Regions from separate parts of the Homo sapiens genome. Here all the other regions are linked to region 4. Evidence: promoter capture Hi-C in 16 types of primary human blood cells and fetal thymus (Javierre and others, 2016). All regions are on one chromosome and are shown on one strand. The core of a region is centred on a gene start or on the middle of the fragment in contact, and the rest is flanking DNA. Distances in the headings are between cores, read along the strand shown.

Region 1 (2,700 bases), core at 176-2,675, 3.5 Mb after region 4:
TCGAACAAACCCCCACTACACAGCAGTACCTTGGCACAACTAAGATTTTATGAAAGCTAGTGTATGAACCTGCATAGCTAAAGATTACCCCACATTGCCTTACACCTGGAGAGGACCTTTCTACTCTTCCTTTCTTCCTCCATCTTTTGGATACCAAATAGTTGTGTATATTTTTAAATGTATATATTGATAAAGAGCTTGTGTACAATGTAAGTTTGCCTGGTTTCACATATATTTGTCCCTCCTATTTATGTGTTATACTAGGAAAAATTATGAAGCTCTTTTAGATTGCAAAGATCACAGACATTCTTAGGTTTTTAATAAAAGTAATTATAATGCCTAAAATGCATTGAGCACTTAATGTGTGTCGGGCAACATGTTAAACTCTTTACATGCCTTGTTTTATTTAATCATCACCACAACCAGTGAGGTGTTTTTATTCACATTTTGTGTGTGCAGAAAGTGGGCTCAGAGAGATTAATTGCCTTGCTTAGAGTCACACTGACGATGGCAGAGCTCAGATATGGACCCAGTTTCTCATATGCGTTCGCCCGTGACCCGCTTTTACGCCTTACTCCTCAGTAAATGAGAAGCTTTTCTACAAGTACACATAGGGAAGTAAACAAACAGTCTCAGCAGGCAAAGAGGAAAAGGGAAGATGATTCACCAACATTCAGGACTCCACAGCATTGTTGATAGTTCTATAGCTGCTGTACAGGCCTAACACAGTTCCACTGGGGAACCATCCAAGTGGCAAAATCATCTGTACCTCAGCCTCCTCTTAACTTTTTTCTCCTTGCCTTTCTTGTCTTCTTTCTCATGGCTTTTACTGCTTCACAGCCCTTTCTCCTGTGTATTTGTACTTCTCTGTTTCTGTGTCACTCTCTGGCCTCTAGGTTCTCTCTGAATGTTTCCCAGTTACACTTCCCTAGGTAGAGTGGATGGTTGGGTTGACTCATCCCATCCATTAGTGAGAACTACACACCAGGGCGCCCCACGTTGGAGGCTCATGGCTAGCTCTCAGCAATCTGCCTTTGAGTTGGGCACCAGGCCCTGGTTCATTCAGCTGGGCCAGCATCACATCCTACAAACTACGGAAATTTTATGTAAGAACCCATAGAAGGAGGCCATAAGTGGGACTTGAACTTGTAGGCTTCAGTGAAATAGGGCAATGAAAGCCCAAAGTTTTCCTGAGATCTGTCTGGAAAAATCATGTAATTTTCAAAGACTTTTGATGTGTCTAATATAAAAATTTAAAGATTATGTGTTTAAAACTTCAGCAAATGGAAGTATTTGCTAAGAGTAGTTCTAGCAATAAATATGCAAGATATGAAGTCTATGCATACTAGGGAAATTCCAACGTATTTCTTTCTTCAGCGTGCTTGATTAGATCAGGACATTAAACTTAATTTGTTAGAAACAACAATAGAGTTGTATACAACATTTAATTAGTTTTCTTACTCTTCTATATTCACAAACATTTACTGAGTATGTAAACAGGCAGTATCTTATGTTTCCATACATTATCAATGAGATAGTAAATGAGACAGCATCCTGTATACTTCCCTTTTAGTCCTTTAGAATCTTTTCATAGTGTAGCAGATACTCAATAAATGACCTGGCCTAATTAATGAGCCCTGATGCCAATTAAGAAGAAAGTACAAATCAAAGAATCTTTTCTTATAAGCATGGAGTCAAGGGGAAGTAATACTATTTCTTTAATGCCTTATACCCAATTTAATATTTTCTGGGTTAAAATAATGGGTTGCAATTATGAAATTTTGGTCCTTTGTTTCCTTTCACACAGCGTGTCAGCTCTACCTTTCACCAGGAGCAAATATACGTATTCAGGAAGAAAACATCTTTGGCTTGCTTTCAGTTTATCTTTTTTTGTGAGGGTTTCACTACTGCATTTGAAATTTGGGCCCATTTTACTTCTACGTGGAATGTCAGGCTTTAGAACCCTAATTAAGTTAATGAAAGACTACAAAAGAAACCTAAGGAGCCTGTGAAGAGAGGTGATCAATTCTGTCCTTGTTAGTAGTTAACTTTTAGAAGTGACTTCCTTGTCCTGCCAGCTCATGAGAACTGGGTCTAGAGAAATTAAATGACTTTATCCTCATCGCCACTCAGCTGGGTAATGGCTTAATACTACAAAATTAAAAGCTGGTAGCCTTTTGATGTTTCAAATATTTGTGTAAGTCGTAAATCTGAGTTAACAAGTTGATTTTATATGTGACTTTTAAATTGAAGCTTATAGTTATTCTATGCATGTGTACACACACACTCACACAATGTCTTACAGTTAGCTTTAATGTGGTAAATCATTTCCAGAAGTGATCAGCTGGTGGAATTGGTTAACAATATGACTGTTCCTCTTTATAATTGCTGGATAAACCCCTCCCAGTGCTTTGTTCAGGGCATTTTGACCACATCATTTTCGTCTTTTCTAACTTTAACTCATAGAAATCCCATGGGATCAGGAACCCATTTTGAGAAATATGTCAGCAACTTTTGAAATGTAGGAAACTAACCAATTAGTGTCAGCTTTTCCCTTGAGGGAAGAAGATAGGAAAAGTTAATATATACTACAGAGGTTACTTTAGGAGATCCTTTACTAGTGGTACATTGTATAAGTGATCATTTTTGACAAAGCTGAAACAAATTATCGTAACTTTTTTTTCTGTTTTGATGTTCAGT
Region 2 (2,700 bases), core at 103-2,602, 3.2 Mb before region 4:
CTTCCCTAATTCTTCAGAGCTGGGTTAGATGCTCCTCCCACAAGCTTACAAAATACTGTAAAATCACCTGACCACAGCACGAGGCATTGTAACTGGCTACCTCCTCTGTATACATTCCGCCCTTTAGATTGTAAAATCGGGACACAGACTGTCCCTTATCTTGCTCAAAAACCTCCAAAACAAGGTGCTTAGAAGGAATTATATTTATTTTTTAAAAAATAAAGGAATGTTTACTACAAAAGACACAATCTTTGGAGCTAATTCTCTCAAAAAGTTGTTTCTATATGGACAAGTAAAACCAACAGAATAAAGTGTGTGCCAGATTATCCGTTTAAAAATATCTGGGCAAAGTCTTCATGCTCTGAAAATGTCCACGCATCCCAACTGACAGTGGAATTCAGAGGCAATTCAATAATAGTTTGACCTCAGACCCACTCCCTCCAGCCTATTTTCTGCCAATCTAACAAACAGCTTTCCACAATTATCATTACCTATTTTCTACTAGTTTTCTCATCAGTATCGGTATTAGAGTGTGCAGGATTTAAAATCAGTATCTTGAAGGTGGAGAAGAATCCTTGTAATAAAAGCAGAGGCCACAAAATGTTATTTGTACCAACTACCTGGGTACCTGCAAACATAGGCCAAAGCATTCGGCCCTGTCATTCACTCTTTGCCCCTGGGAACAGCAAAGATACCGCTGGAGCCACTGCCTGTCAGTCCCCTAGGAGTGAGTCTGTCATCAGCACCCGGACCCTGCAGAAAGGCCCGTAGTGGGCGTATCCCCAGCTTCCCCGAGCCCCATCCACACAGAGCGGCCCTGCCTCTGCGAGCTGAGTAGCGATCGGGATCCTCTGCACCCGCTCCACAACGGCGAGGCCTCCCTGCCGGAGCTCCGAGGGGCGGCCAGGTCCTCACCCACCCCCGGCCGCGCGTCGCCGCCCACCTCGCAGTGCAGGAGTTCGGTGCCCGGGTCCTGCCGCCCCGCGATCCGGCAGAACACGCAGGTGCTGTCGTAGTCCTTGGGCTCTGGTGACTTGCCAGCGGCTTCACAGGTCCCCACTGAGGAAACCGTAGTTTCTGCAGTCGCCGAGGCCTCACAGTCGGGGGCCAGGCCGGCGCTGCGGTTCACCTGTTCCTCCGCCATTGCACCCGCCCCTCGCGGCCTAGAGCCTCGGCCTCTCCAGGGCTACCGGGCCCGCGCAGTCTCCGCGTCCCGCACCTCCTCCGTTTTACCTCGAGACGTCGCCCCTCGCCTGACGCTGGGCGGTGATCCAGGCTTTGGGGAGAGGGAAGGAGACGCGGTGAGGAACTTCAAAGCCGGAGGCCGGCCTCAAAACCGGCTGCCACTAGAGGGCGCGCAATGGCGCTGCCGAGAGTCGTCCTGACCCCTGCGCCTCGTTGGTAATGACGCACGACGTCTGCCAAGTCGCAGAGCGCCCAGCGCGTCGTGGTGACATCACAGAGGCGCGGGAGCGTTTGACATAATGGAGCTTGTTGGGTGTTCTGGACAGGCGTTCTTCAAAGCCCATAGTATAGCGTGTCCAAATATTGTATTACGCTGCCGTTTTTTTAAAAAAAAAAACAAAAAGTTTTTTAAAGTTTGATTTTTAAAATTCGTAGGTTTTTAAAGAATGAGCAAAATTCCTAAAGCCTTGTTTTCAACAGACATCATGTTTGCTGCTTTTTCAGCCACGATAATTGTAGGAGTTTAAACTCAAAATGTCCAAAACTGACCTTTACATCTCTGTTGACTTTTTATTGTTGTTAACAGCACAGTTAGATCAAACTAGCGACCTTTTTTTTAATCTCACATTCCTCATATACAAGTAGATGTGGAGTCCTATAGTCAATACTCTGAAATATCCCAGAAATTCAATGCCAGTGCCTCATAATGCCTCACCTAGACCAACGCAATCACCTTCTAACTTACTTATTGATTTTCCTGTCACTCAGACAAAACCTTCTGTAACTATGTGCTCAAAGAAAAAGTACCAGTTCCTTAGCTTGGTGTTCAAGGTGGACTCTGATTTGACCTCAGCTTTTCGTTTTGTGATACTTCCCACTTGCTGAGCATCTAAAACATGCCATATATTTCTCTAATTGTCAAAAAACGCAAGGTTGGTTTTATAACCACCGCTCTAGAGATGAAGGACCAAACTCAGAGTTGCCCAGTCCCACACAACTAATTAATAGTGACAGAGTTTAAGATCAAGGTTTGTCTAACTCCAAAACCCACCAACCTTTTTGACATACAGCACTCCTTTTTTAACACCAAAAAATTTGTTGGACTAGCTCACTATAGTAGTTACACCCTTGGTATTTGCTGATTTAGAAAATACATAACAAATTGGGAATTCAGTAATGATTTTTAATGGATTTATGTTGTAATAAAAAGTGGTTGTATGTGTTTTGAATTGTTGTACATATACATTCAAGACATTTTTCATTCCTTTTTGTAGTTGGCCCGTAGTTTGGGGAACCACTACAATAGCTTCACTGCCTTTCAGCACCCCAAAGCAGAGTTCAGAATCAATACATTAGAGTTTTGCCAAATTTTAGTATTCACAATTTCCATGCCTGTACTACACCTTCACATCACTGCTTTTATTCACACAGTTCTCTCTCAAATATTCTTGTTTCCATCTCTTCACTCCAAATTCTACCTTCCAAGCCACCCCTCCAATGCTACCTCCTTCATGA
Region 3 (2,700 bases), core at 39-2,538, 4.1 Mb after region 4:
TTGTGCCTATCATAAATGGGAACAATTTTAGCCCCATAACAAAAGAAACAGCACAATATTCTTTTTGCTAAGAATTCTGAATTTATTATATTTAAAGTCTTGATTCCGTTTCTGATGGAGATTGGGTTGTTATGCTGGTTGTCATCCACAGCCAAATGCAGCCAAAATTGGGTTTATTTTCTCTCCTTGTGCTCCTTACAAACGCTTAGCAGGTCTGAAGTTCTCTTTGTTGACAATGGCTCCATCCTCCTGTCAGCTTTCTATGATCCTAACCTTGTTAAACCTTTTCCTCTATCATTTTGTCCAGAAAAATCACCAATTCCATGATTCCTTGTCCTACAGGATTTTCAAAGCTGTGCACTGTCTCTGTTCTCACAGGTTCAGACCAGCTTGGACCTAAGCATTGTTAGTTAGACAATGGAAATAGCCTTATTTGTCTCTTGTGTCTAGCTTTCTCGGTCAGACCATCCTGGCCAGCAGCAAACATTCTTTTCATCACTTGCCTGACAAATTTAAATCAGGATTATTCAGCAAGCATTCTGTCAGCTTATTACTCATCTCATTGTCTTGTACGCCTTATTGCAGCCATCAAACCCTTCATTGTTCCATCCTTTAACCACATCCACTTCTGAGGCATCCACATACTCTTCTGCCTGCCACTTTCCACCAAGTGATCCACTTCGTCCCTTTCCAACACTGCCCAAGATTGCCCTTTGTCATGAAGTTTCCCAAGAGTATATGTGATTTCCCAAAACTCTCTTCAACATCCTTTGATCCCTTAGGCACTGAATTGTACAATATAACCAAAGGTGGAAATTAAAAAATTACATGGAATTTTGTTTGTACTTCTACCCTCACCATAAATTGTTCAAGCTTCTTTTGTCCAAGAGTAAGGTCTCCATTTTGGCACAACACCCGAACCTTGGGTGCTCTCTACACACAGGACAGGTTTCCATCAGCTCATGCTTAGTGCAGCGTCATCTTTAAAAAGCTCCACATCTTCCTTTAAAACACAGAAGTTAAAAGATCCTTTCCTGGGCTGGGCGCGGTGGCTCACGCCTGTAATCCCAACACTTTGGGAGGCCGAGGCGGGCGGATCACGAGGTCAGGAGATCGAGACCATCCTGGCTAACATGGTGAAACCCCATCTCTACTAAAAACACAAAAAAATTAGCTGGGCGTGGTGGCAGGCGCCTGTAGTCTCAGCTACTCGGGAGGCTGAGGCAGGAGAATGGCGTGAACCCGGGAGGCGGAGCTTGCAGTGAGCTGAGACCATGCCACTGCACTCCAGCCCGGGCAACAGAGTGAGACTCCGTCTCAAAAAAAAAAAAAAAAAAGAAGATCCTTTCCTGTGCTATGTAACTGAAACTTCTCTTGCTGGATTTCATCCACCCACTCAACAACTTGATCTTATTTATAAAGACTTTCCTCTGTAAGGAAATCATTGACTCTAAATCTGAGCTTTAAAATAATTCTTTTTTCTAAATCTTATTTACATGTTGAATGGCAAAAAAAAAAAAAAAAGGATTTGAGATTTTTAAAAAGCAATTTCTGTCTGCAGACAGACAAATTGTGAAACTGTCAACCTGGAGTTAAGATGCCCGTTAAGCTATTCAATTAGAATATGTTTATTTTGTTAAATAGTTGATATTTGTTAGGTAGATTCATATATTATATAAACTTATCCCCACAATAAAGCTTGGCAATGGATTTCATTATCCTCATATTATAGACAATGAAACCAAAGCTCAACACAAGGTCACCAAGTTACAGGTGGTAGAGCAAGATTGGTGCTCTGGTGTCTAGCCATCTAAGCCCAGTGTTCTTTCTTACTCCTGAACCCACAACCTCTGGTTAGCTCCAAGCCTCCTAATGAGAAGGAGGTGAAGGACCACACTGCATGACTGACAATGCTGCTGAGGTCAACAGACCTATGGGCAATGTGGCATGTTGATCAGATATTTAATTCCCAAATGGATTTGGAATTATTTCCCGGTGTTTCATTCAGTTCCACCGTTTTGTCTATTTATGAGTTAGCATACACTTTCAGTTATCAAAGCTTTATATTTCAGCATCTGGTAGAGCTAGTTCCTCCCTCATTAGACTTTTCCCCCTCAGATTTTTCTTTGTGCTTTGAATCAACTTAGTTCACAAGACCATTATGAATTTTTTTGTCATATATCAAATTTATAGCTTAAATCATGAGAGTTGACATCTTTTTTCATTTTTGAAACAGAGTTTCGCCCTCGTTGCCCAGGCTGGAGTGCAATGGCGCGATCTCAGCTCACAGCAACCTCTGCCTCCCAGGTTCAAGTGATTCTCCTGCCTCAGCCTCCCAAGTAGCTGTGATTACAGGCATGTGCCACCAAACCCCCCCGCTAATTTTTTTGTATTTTTTTTTTAGTAGAGACAGGGTTTCACCATGTTGGTCAGGCTGGTCTCGAACTCCTGACCTCAGATGATACATCTGCCTTGGGCTCCCAAAGTGCTGGATTACAGGTGTGAACCACTGTGCCTGGCCAAGAGTTGACATCTTGATAATATTTTCCATCTTCCTAATAAAACAAATAGATTTTTCCATCTGCACTAGTGTTCTTTTGTGTTTCCCAGTACTCATGTCTTTGTGGCTTTCCCAATCATAAAGGTAAATCTTTCTATCACTTTTTGAATCGTGTTTCAGTGTTGCTTTCTTTCCCTCTC
Region 4 (2,700 bases), core at 133-2,632:
TTTACAGTTTTTGCTTCAGACCTGACAGCTGAGTCGTGAGGACTTGGCCTTCAAAGAGAAGATATTTGCCCTAGAGCGCTCCCAAGTCCTGAGAAAGCACAGAGGGAGCGAAAGAGGTTTCAGCACTAGGTGCTGCTACCGAGTCTCAGGGACAACTCTCCCCTAAAAGAAAACAGAACCCCACTTCTCTAATTTTGTTTTTCCTCTTAACAGTGCAATTATTTTTAAAGGGAGTTGAGGAGGTGAGGGCACCTTGATTTTTGGAACTGGAGGCTCGGATGGCATTGTACAATCTCCCACCAAAATGTATCTATTCTGGACCAGTGAGTCTCAAACTTAGCCGAAAGGAATCATGCGGAGGGTGGGTTAAACAGCATACTGTGGAAGCCCAACGCCGGCGTTTCAGATTCAGTAGGTCTGGGATGGGCTGGAAATTTGCAATGCTAACAATTTTAAGTGCGGCGGCTGCTGCCACCGGTCCAGGGCACACTTAAGAGAATCACTACTGTAACGGGCACTGTGTTAAGTGCTGGGAGTGAATAAAATGGGTCCCGCCCGCAGGAAACCTAGTGGACATCCAGGTGAAATGAAGTCCCCGTGAGTTCCACGGTAGACTAAGGGGTGAGTCTACCCGAGGGTGCTTTCGCGCTCTGGCTGGGTGAGTGGCAGAAAAAGCCACTGATCTCGGTCGAGCAAGACAGAAGATAGTGTGAGTCACGCTGAAATTTACTTCCCTGAGCTGGTGGGGAAACTGCAGTCCCCCTCCATTCAGGACCGATTAGGGGCCTCTTGCTGTGCTGGACATCGGACTCCCAGCTTCCTCTTCCCTTGAGTCCCGCAGCTTTTCCTTCCTTCCCCAAGGAACAAAACAACTGAGATGCAGGATGTAAACAAAAGCCAGGCTGGCGAAATCCGGCCGACGCGCCCTTGGAGCGCCCCCACCGGCGAGGGCATTTCCCCCGCCCAGCCCCGGCCTCCCGGCTGGACGCCCTAACGCTGTAGTCCCTTGGTCGCCCTCCCCGCGCCCACCAGCCGTGGTCAACGCCGGACGCGTCAGGGGCCCCGCTAGCCCGAGCCTCTGCCGGGGGCAGCTGCCCCCACGCACTTTCTCCTGCTGTGCGCAGGCGCCGCCGCTCCGCGCTCTTTGCCGGCTGGGAAGAGAAGGGTCGCGGACAACTCACCTATCGCCGGAGGAGGATTCCTGCCGCCTGCGGGCGCCACGGGCAGCCCGAGGCCGGAGCGGCAGTGCCAGGCAGTCAGCAGGCAGCAGACGAGTGCGCGCACCAGCGCCATGGAGGGCCGCGGGGCTGACCTGGAGGTTCGGGCTGTCCCGCAGCTCCACTCGGACCGTCAGGCCTGAGGGTGAGGCGGAGACAGAAGACGGCTGCGGGTGTAGACGTCCGACTGATCACGTGCAAAGGCAGATTCCGCAGCGAGTCAGTTCGCCTGACCTTCAGCTGCTGTTTAGCGATGATCTGTTCTCGTATTTCTTAGCGTCAGTGTTTGGCCTAGGAAGGAATGTACTTGTAGAAGCTCAAATTCCGACTCGTGTATCAGTGGTGCAGTTGATGTCAAACACTGACATACTGGTGCTTGGGGATAGAGAAAGACATTCAATTTAGTAAAAGCCAGAAGGAGGGAGAACAAGATCTCTCAAATCCGTGTGTAAAAAGGAAAAAGCAGGGAGTTTTTATTCTGCTAGAGAATAAGAGAGGGGGATTTTCAAAGAATCCAGGGGAAAAGTCTGTTTCTTCAGTCTCAGATAACACCTTTGAGCAATTAGACGTCCAGGCATCCGCAGCTGGTTGCAAAGCCCTTGGAGGTATTCATCCCTTCTGCAAACATTTTTGTGACCCTGAAGTTAACCTCTTTGTTCTTGACGAGGAAGCAGTACCTCAGCAGTTTATAATTATATTGTGGAAACAAGGAGAATATTGGGCAAAAAGCGAGTGGTTAAAATGTGCAAGCAAGCAGGAGCCTGATCAGAATTTTCATTATTTCAGTCACTAAAAAATGCTGGGGTGCTGAAATCTCAACGATCCCGGTTCCATTCTTGGGCCAACCTACCCCAGCTTTAATGGGTAGGGCTCCTCAGTAGAGGTGATGCAGAGAGCCCTGAAGTATCATGATTTGAAGGAAATCAGCAAAAGTTATGGATACTGCAGTGGATCTCGAATTGAAGTCTCTGAACTGGGAACATTAGCACCACCTGGGAACTCTAGTTAGAAATGCAAATTCCCAGGCACCACCCTAGACCTGTTGAGTCAGAAACCTGCTGGAGCCCAGCAGTTTGTGTTTTCACAAGCATTTCAGGTCATGTTAAAGTGATTGTGATGTTTGAAAACCAATGCTCAAAGATACGACGTTTTGTTTTTTGTTTTTTTTAAACTGCCGGGAAGAGAAGGGTCTTAGAATTAGAACATGTTCTGAAATCATGCTTTATGCATTCCAGAGATGCATGGAAATCATAAGTAGAGGTGGTTGATTTGATGCTTCCACGGAACTTTTTTGAATATACTTCTGGCAAAGAAGTAAGTCTATACAAAGAAGTAAGCAAAGATAAGTCTGGCAAAGAAGTAAGTCTATACAAAGAAGTAAGCAAAGATAAGTCTGGCAAAGAAGCCAGAATCCCGAAACTGTGCTGGATCCTGTATTCTGTGTTCCTTCTCTCACCGTTTATGAGGATGCTGATCTCTTGGA

Evidence for each region. Contacts are between HindIII fragments. The CHiCAGO score rates a contact against its expected background, and 5 or more counts as called.
Region 1: a fragment that was not itself captured here is called in contact with the fragment with the promoter of SMPDL3A in region 4 in 1 of 17 cell types (M0 macrophages); the score reaches 6.7 in M0 macrophages.
Region 2: a contact is called between the fragment with the promoter of HINT3 here and the fragment with the promoter of SMPDL3A in region 4, in 1 of 17 cell types (M0 macrophages). The highest score is 7.3, in M0 macrophages.
Region 3: a contact is called between a fragment that was not itself captured here and the fragment with the promoter of SMPDL3A in region 4, in 1 of 17 cell types (M0 macrophages). The highest score is 7.3, in M0 macrophages.

Annotation. Positions count from the first base shown.
Region 1 is chr6:119,308,841-119,311,540 of GRCh38, reverse strand. All of the region lies in intron 2 of MAN1A1 (mannosidase alpha class 1A member 1), which reads left to right. Among named protein-coding and RNA genes, the nearest start is that of MAN1A1, 40 kb to the left of the region's middle. The HindIII fragment of the contact is 1,660 bases long and covers 596-2,255 here.
Region 2 is chr6:125,955,422-125,958,121 of GRCh38, reverse strand. It overlaps HINT3 (histidine triad nucleotide binding protein 3), which reads right to left and starts at 1,352. Exons shown (of 5, transcript NM_138571.5): 1 at 944-1,352. The coding sequence starts at 1,144. RefSeq lists enhancers at 130-179, 1,240-1,339 and a silencer at 850-1,069. The HindIII fragment of the contact is 9,214 bases long and covers 47-2,700 here.
Region 3 is chr6:118,711,011-118,713,710 of GRCh38, reverse strand. No RefSeq gene overlaps it. Among named protein-coding and RNA genes, the nearest start is that of CEP85L, 61 kb to the right of the region's middle. The HindIII fragment of the contact is 825 bases long and covers 876-1,700 here.
Region 4 is chr6:122,787,940-122,790,639 of GRCh38, reverse strand. It overlaps SMPDL3A (sphingomyelin phosphodiesterase acid like 3A), which reads right to left and starts at 1,382. Exons shown (of 8, transcript NM_006714.5): 1 at 1,182-1,382. The coding sequence starts at 1,293. RefSeq lists enhancers at 571-1,070, 1,071-1,572 and a silencer at 1,062-1,356. The HindIII fragment of the contact is 3,428 bases long and covers 1-2,700 here.